Regions from separate parts of the Homo sapiens genome. Here region 2 is linked to region 1. The links are contacts of gene promoters, found by promoter capture Hi-C in human tissues and cell types (Jung and others, 2019). All regions are on one chromosome and are shown on one strand. The core of a region is centred on a gene start or on the middle of the fragment in contact, and the rest is flanking DNA. Distances in the headings are between cores, read along the strand shown.

Evidence for each region. Contacts are between HindIII fragments. The study calls those that stand out against the background at their distance.
Region 2: a contact is called between the fragment with the promoter of ZNF264 here and a fragment that was not itself captured in region 1, in 3 of the 25 tissues and cell types used here (adrenal gland, dorsolateral prefrontal cortex and thymus).

Annotation. Positions count from the first base shown.
Region 1 is chr19:57,383,289-57,386,703 of GRCh38, reverse strand. No RefSeq gene overlaps it. Among named protein-coding and RNA genes, the nearest start is that of ZNF548, 4.9 kb to the left of the region's middle. The HindIII fragment of the contact is 6,124 bases long and covers 1-3,415 here.
Region 2 is chr19:57,189,816-57,193,230 of GRCh38, reverse strand. ZNF264 (zinc finger protein 264) reads right to left here and starts at 1,731. Exons shown (of 4, transcript NM_003417.5): 1 at 1,285-1,731. The coding sequence starts at 1,317. RefSeq lists a silencer at 1,216-1,485 and enhancers at 1,656-1,715, 1,726-1,815, 1,836-1,895. The HindIII fragment of the contact is 13,408 bases long and covers 1-3,415 here.

The DNA.
Region 1 (3,415 bases), core at 476-2,975:
GTCAGCTAGTCAGCAAAAGCTTCACCCCAGTAATTAACCAGAAACTTAGCAAATCATTGTTAGGCCAAGATTCTAAAATTTTTCCAATGGGGGTAAGGCCCAGTACTAAAGATGGTCAATCAGTGGCAGCCCCAGGCTGCTGGCAACAACTAATCCACAAGTGCCTCCTGTCAGTAATCCTGTTTATGAAAGCCAGTTGGTAAATGGTTGCATTTACACTAACATACCTGAAAGTCCATCAGTCTTTCAACTCTGCTGCTTCTGAAAGTCCTCAGTCCCTGAAGGCCAGCCTTCCTAAAAGCTCATATAATAGCAGTTTTGGCTTTGTTTGAGGAGACTGCCTGACCACTACAGCTCTGCCCTGCAGACAAATAGGAATATCACTTTTTTTCCCTTGAGATATCAAAATCTATTTATTCTTTTTTTTTTTTTTGAGACGGAGTCTCACTCTGTCGCTGGGCTGGAGTGCAGTGGTGTGATCTCGGCTCACTGCAACCTCCGCCTCTCCGGTTCAAGTGATTCTCCTGCCTCAGACTCTCAAGTAGCTGGAACTACATATGCACGCCACCACGCCCAGTTAATTTTTTTGTATTTTTAGTAGAGACGGGATTTCACCATGTTGGCCAGGATGGTCTCGATCTCTTGACCTCATGATCCGCCTGCCTCGGCCTCCCAAAGTGCTGGGATTACAGGCATGAGCCACCACGCCTGGCCCCATTTATTCTTAATTGAATATAAATTATTACTTATATTTTAATTATATGAATATAATTTAAAAGTTTGCAAGCTTTCAATGGTTCCATCTGTTTGTAATTAGTTATGAGTTTGGATATGAAATGGTAGACTAACTGACCCAGACATACATTGTAAAATCCAACGTTTTCTCCAGTGTTTTCTTTTTTCTTTCTTTTCTTTTTTTTTTTTAAGATACAGTTTCACTCTGTCACCCAGCTGGAGTGCAGTGGCGCAATCTCGGCTCACTGCAACCTCTGGCTCCCAGGTTCAAGTGATTCTCATGCCTCAGCCTCCCAAGTAGCTGGGATTACAGGCGCGTGGCACCATGCCTGGCTAATTTTTTGTATTTCTATTAGAGATGGGGTTTCGCCATGTTGGCCATACTGGTCTCGAACTCCTGACCTCAAGTGATCTGTCCGCCTAGGCCTCCCAAAGTGCTGCGATTACAGGCATGAGCCACTGTACCCACAATGTTTTTCAACTCTTGTAGAAGTTGCTATTGTCTATATTTTGAGTATATTGAATGCAAAAAATGTCAAAATGCAAGTTTATAATTTATGATGAACTGAGGAGTATTTAAAATTCCCTTTGAAGGTCTTCGACTCTATGTAATTGCCCATTGACTAATGAAAATGGTGGACAGTCAAATATATATTAACTTTGGAAGGTGCATGATTTTCTCAACTAGTTCCAAAGAAAGAGACAAAATAACTTTTTTGTTAAAATCAGATGGAGATGGTAGAATAATTATAATAGAGTTTGTAATGTTTTCTACACTGTTTATCATCATGAGTCTTTAGGCTCAGAATGCTACTGTTGAGTGTGTTTCTCATTAATGAATGTCCAATAGATAAAGGAATGAAATAAGTTGAATATGACAAATGACGAAGGTTTGTCACAACATAAATGGCATCAAGACTGTAACTGCAGGAATTCTGTAAGCAAATTATATAAAACAAGGAATTGTTAAGTAGAAGCAAATTATCAGGGAAAGAGTTATGTCATTAGAACTGTGATCCCCAAGCTTTTTAGTACCAGGGACCGGTTTTGTGGAAGACAATTTTTCCATGGATAAGGGAGAGGGGTTTGGGGGCAGATGGTTTCAGAGGCATTAGATTCTCATAAGGAGCATACAACCTAGATCCCTCTCTTGTGCAGTTCACAGTAGGGTTTGCACCCCTATGAGAATCTAATGCTGCTGCCGATCTGACAGGAGGCGGAGATCAGGCAGCAATGCTCACTCATCTGCCACTCACCCTCTGCTATATGGCCCCATTCCTAACAGGCCATAGTACTCATCTGTGGCCCCAGGGGTTGGGGACCCCTGATTTAGAATGTATTTCAGATAAACAACAAATAATTTTATGATGAGTATGTCACATACAATATTTATCTTTTATCTCACTGCACATATACATAGGGAATTAGAAATAATTCAAATTTAACCAGGTCAAGTATCAGTTACAAAATTTGACAATTCTTTTCATCGTAATTTTTTTCTGAACCTATGCATTATATTGAGCATCCTCATTTTTGAACCTAGTAACTCATTCACAGAATTTCTGCTACCCTTCTTCTTTTTTCTTTTTTTCTTTTTTTTTTTTTGAGACAGAATCTTGCTCTGTCACCCAGGCTGGAGTGCATTGGCGCGATCTCAGCTCACTGCAACCTCTGCCTCCCGGCTTCAAGCGATTCTTCTGCCTCAGCCTCCTGAATAGCTGAGATTATAGGCGCCCGCCACCATGCCCGGCTAATTTTTTTTTTTGCCCTGTCGCCCAGGCTGGAGTGCAATGGCATGATCTCAGCCCACTGCAACCCCCTCTTCCCGGGTTAAAGCAATTCTCCTGCCTCAGCCTCCCGAGTAGCTGTGATTACAGGCACGCACCACCACGCACAGCTAATTTTTTGTATCTTTAGTAGAGATAGGGTTTCACCATGTTGGCCAGGCTGGTCTCGAACTCCTGACCTTATGATCTGCCTGCCTCGGCCTCCCAAAGTGCTGGGATTACAGGCTTGAGCCACTGTGTCTGGCCACTTCTTCTTAATTGTAAATTCTGCTGGTTGGGGGCCCTTTGTTCCAAGGAAGGAGAGGTTCCACCAGAAGTAAATATTATTACATTTAATTGAAGGGTGATACAGCTACTTGTTCATCTGGGGATCCTTGTGTCACTTAAGCAAGAAGGGATTGCTTTTTTGCTTTGGATGAGTTAGGCTGAGTTGCTGCCATGGAATGGGAAGCATAGAGAGTTATGTCTGAGACCAGGGGATTTCTGGGGGATGTTTTGGTAAGTTCATGTTCAGAAATAAAACTAGCAACTCATCGAAGGGAGGACTTCTAAGAATCAGAAGTTTAGGTTTTGATATTTGGGGACATCCTCCAGGTTAAAAAACAAACAAAACCAAAATGCTACCCAGCTGAAGATCCGGCAGAGGCAGAAGAATGGGATGGTGGGGGGAGGGGGGAGCGGGGAGGAGAATGAAAAATCAATTTTCAACCTAAGACCAGTTAAGAAAACAAGAAATCTCAATATTATAGCTATCTTCCTTGTTTACATGTAAGAAATTGACTATAGAAATCAACAATGGCCAAGCCAAATATAAAACAGAACTCTAACCCACTACTGCACTGACCAGCTCAGGAAGCCAACCTGCTATCTACACTAACCAGATGAGGAAATCT
Region 2 (3,415 bases), core at 482-2,981, 190 kb after region 1:
AGCGCTATCAATTCACCCAGTCACACATCTCACCACCATAGATAGGATCTAAACATGGGGTTACTATGATTCACGGTCTAACAGTGTAACTCCAACACTCCCCCAACATCAAAGCAAATCTAATGCGATGAAGTTATAAGCATTTCCACTCATTTCTAACATTAAGTCTATTTCAATTAGCCCTGAAAAACGTATCTGTGGGCCGGGCATGGTGGCTCATGCATGTAATCCCAGCACTTTGGGAGGTCGAGGTGGGCGGATCGCTTGAGGCCAGGAGTTGAAGACCAGCCTGGCAAATATGGTGAAACCCAGTCTCTACTAAAATACAAAAATCAGTCAGGTGTGGTAGTGCATGCCTGTAATCCCAACTACTCGGCAGGCTGGGGCAGGAGAATTGCTTGAACCTGGGAGGCAGAGACTGCAGTGAGCTGAGAGTGCACCACTGTACTCCAGCCTGGGCGACAGAGTGAGACCCTGTCTCAAAACAAAAAAAAGTATGTGAACACGGGCACAAAAAGCTCAGCATTCCTCACTGACCCCACAGAGCGGCACTGGAAGGGCTGCATCTACTTGGGGAACGACAGGCTCCAGACCAGCTTCCCATGCCCTCTGGGATCTCCCTGGGTCTCCCAGATCCCCCAAGGAAATTCCACAATGAACCAACCATCGGCCTCTTTCCTTACTGGGTTCCGACAGAACTTGTCTCTGACGCCAGGATACTTTGGGGCCACGGAACACGAGCGGCCAAGGATAATGCAGGCTGTAGCGATGAGAGTAAGGGCATCTGACTGGCCACAATGTCTGCAGTAGTTGCGGATGGCTAGAACATCCAGGAAAAGACCACACACTGTTGCCCTCCACGTCTCAGCGGCCGCAGGAAAACCATGGCAACCTTACACACCCTCCTGAGCCTCCTTAAACATACAACATACCTTGTCTCTGCTCGCGCATTTGTCGGCTTGCTACTGCCCTGCCCTCCCCTTCCCCCCTCAGGCCCCCAATTCATGCTGGAATGAGACCTGGTCCACCAGAGAATGCTTGCAGGCCAAGGATGATGGGAGTCCCCAGAGGAAGCATCATTCACTCAACAACCTACGGAGCTCCTTCCAGTAGGCCCAACACTCCTTACGGCCAGGTATAAATTAAGTGGCAAACCAGCTCCACACACCAAAGCGAACGACGACTGCGAAGACAAATCCAGGGGATACCTGGGCTCCCACCCACTTCGGAAACCGCCTCAGCGCTGGCAAGGAAGCGGCAACCGCGAAGCCACCGTCCACTCACCTGGGCCCGGTCCGTCAGCACCGCTGCCGCCATCACGTCACCCCCTGGGCCGCAGAGCTGGGACAGAGGAGCCCCGGGCGGCCTGACGGACCCCACCTGTGCCCGACCCTGGCCGGTTGCCCGGGGCTTCCAGGCGCGCTCGGGGCCGCCGCCTCCTCGGTGGCAACGGCGTTCCAGACGCAGGGCCGCCGCCTCCTCGGTGGCAACCGCGTTCCAGACCCAGGGCGCCGCCCCTGGAGACCGCGGGGCTGAAGGGCGGGGGAGGAGAGACCGCAGCTTGACGGCGACCCAGGAACAAACCCACGGAAGGGGTCAGGCTCGTACAAAGGTGCGGCGGGGATTCCTATCCTACTCCCCTGCTCGGTCCTGACTAGGGACCTGCAAAGCGGCCCCGACCGGGGCCCTCAGTGGCTACAGACCTCTCCAGACAGAAGTGCAGAAGAAAATGGCGTCCGCAGCGAGCAACCCGGAAGTCCCGCCCCCACCGGCGTGAGCCGTCGGAAACGTCCCCGTCCTAGGCCGTCGTTGGCCCAGCTCCCGCCGTACGCATAATGCACAGCCTTCTAAGTAGTGTAGTTTTCCTCATGTGTTCAACAACGGGAGGAACGCTTCACGGCGCAAGTTTTCCTCCCAGGGAAAGGCACTCCAGGACCCGAGGAGACGCTCCAGACCCACCTCTTTACGGTGGGCACAACTCGAGGGGAAGGATGGAGGGAGGGAACCGAGGGGCAAGGGTTACATTGCATTCTTCTCTCGGGAAAATCGGAGCTCGGGAGACAGGGACTTTCCTTCAGGTCAGGGCACAGGCAAAGGCGCAGAACTGGGTCCTCAGCTCGCCTGGCGACTGACCCCCTTTCACATCCCTCCTCCCCGGATCATCATCTTGGAAGACACAAAAAAGCCGAATGATCATCTGGAAGCCCTGCCCCGACACGTTGTGTGCGCAAACTGCCCTCTTTTGAGCCTTCTTTGGACCAGCACAGCCTCTACGTGATGCAGGGAGTCATGTATTTGGCCCAGACCACACAAAAAGTGGATTTGCCCACTTCTGAGGTGGGGAGGCTGCAAGTGGAGGAGGTTCGGAGGCTCAGGATGGTTAGTTTGAAATGTCTACAGAACCACAAAGTATCTCTGTCACAGGCAATTCGACTTACGACTGAATGTTGGAAGAAGGTTTGAGCATGAATATATGAATTTAGGAGTTACCTTACACTGTTATTTCAAGTCATGATATTGAGTGAGACCATCAAGGCAATGCATGTAGATGGAGAAGAAAATACACAGAGCATGAGCCGGGGACCAAGTCTACATCATTAAATGGTTGATGACAATATTACCAGAAAGGCCAGGTCCTTGCATCTAGATCCTGCTGCTTGCTGCACAGAAGGCCAGTCAGCAAGACAATGAGTATTGTCAGGGATGAAGGCTTTATTCGGTGCTGCAGCTGAGGAAAATGGGAGATCAATCTCAAATCTCTTTCCTCAACTGACTAAAACTAGGGGTTTATACATCAGGGAAGAAGTGTAACTATGTTTGAGAAAACAGGAATTAGGAAGGGGTAAGGAAGAGGAATGGGTCAACAGGCAGCAGATGGTCAGTTAGGCAATCATCATGGGTAAGGGGTATAGCATCTCGTTTTTCCAGATGTGGTAATCCAGTAAGTTTCAGTTTCTTTATACTATCTGGGAGGCCTGATGCTTGGTTTCCTGAGAAAGGAAATCAGATAAGACAAATAAAAGTGTCTCGAGTTTTAGGAAGGGGAGGCTCAATGTCTATAATGTGTTGATTCAAAAGAAACCATAAATATCAGTTCTATGGGACACTGGAGCTGGTTTCAGTTCCCTGTTTCTATTTATCAATTCCTCAATCATGGGGAATCTGGACGTGATCTTTCTGGCTGCTTTATGCTGAGGAGGGGTATTGTGGGTGGCTGCATACCATAGATGACCACGTGGCCACTCAGATTAACTCAAAGGTTAATCTAACGCTATAGTTTTCTTTCTTTCTTTCTTTTTTTTTTTTGAGACAGAGTTTTGTTCTTTCACCTAGGCTGGAGTGCAGTGGCACGATCTCCGCTCACTGCAACCTCTGCCTCCTAGGTTCAAGCGATCCTCCTGCCTCAGCTTCCCGA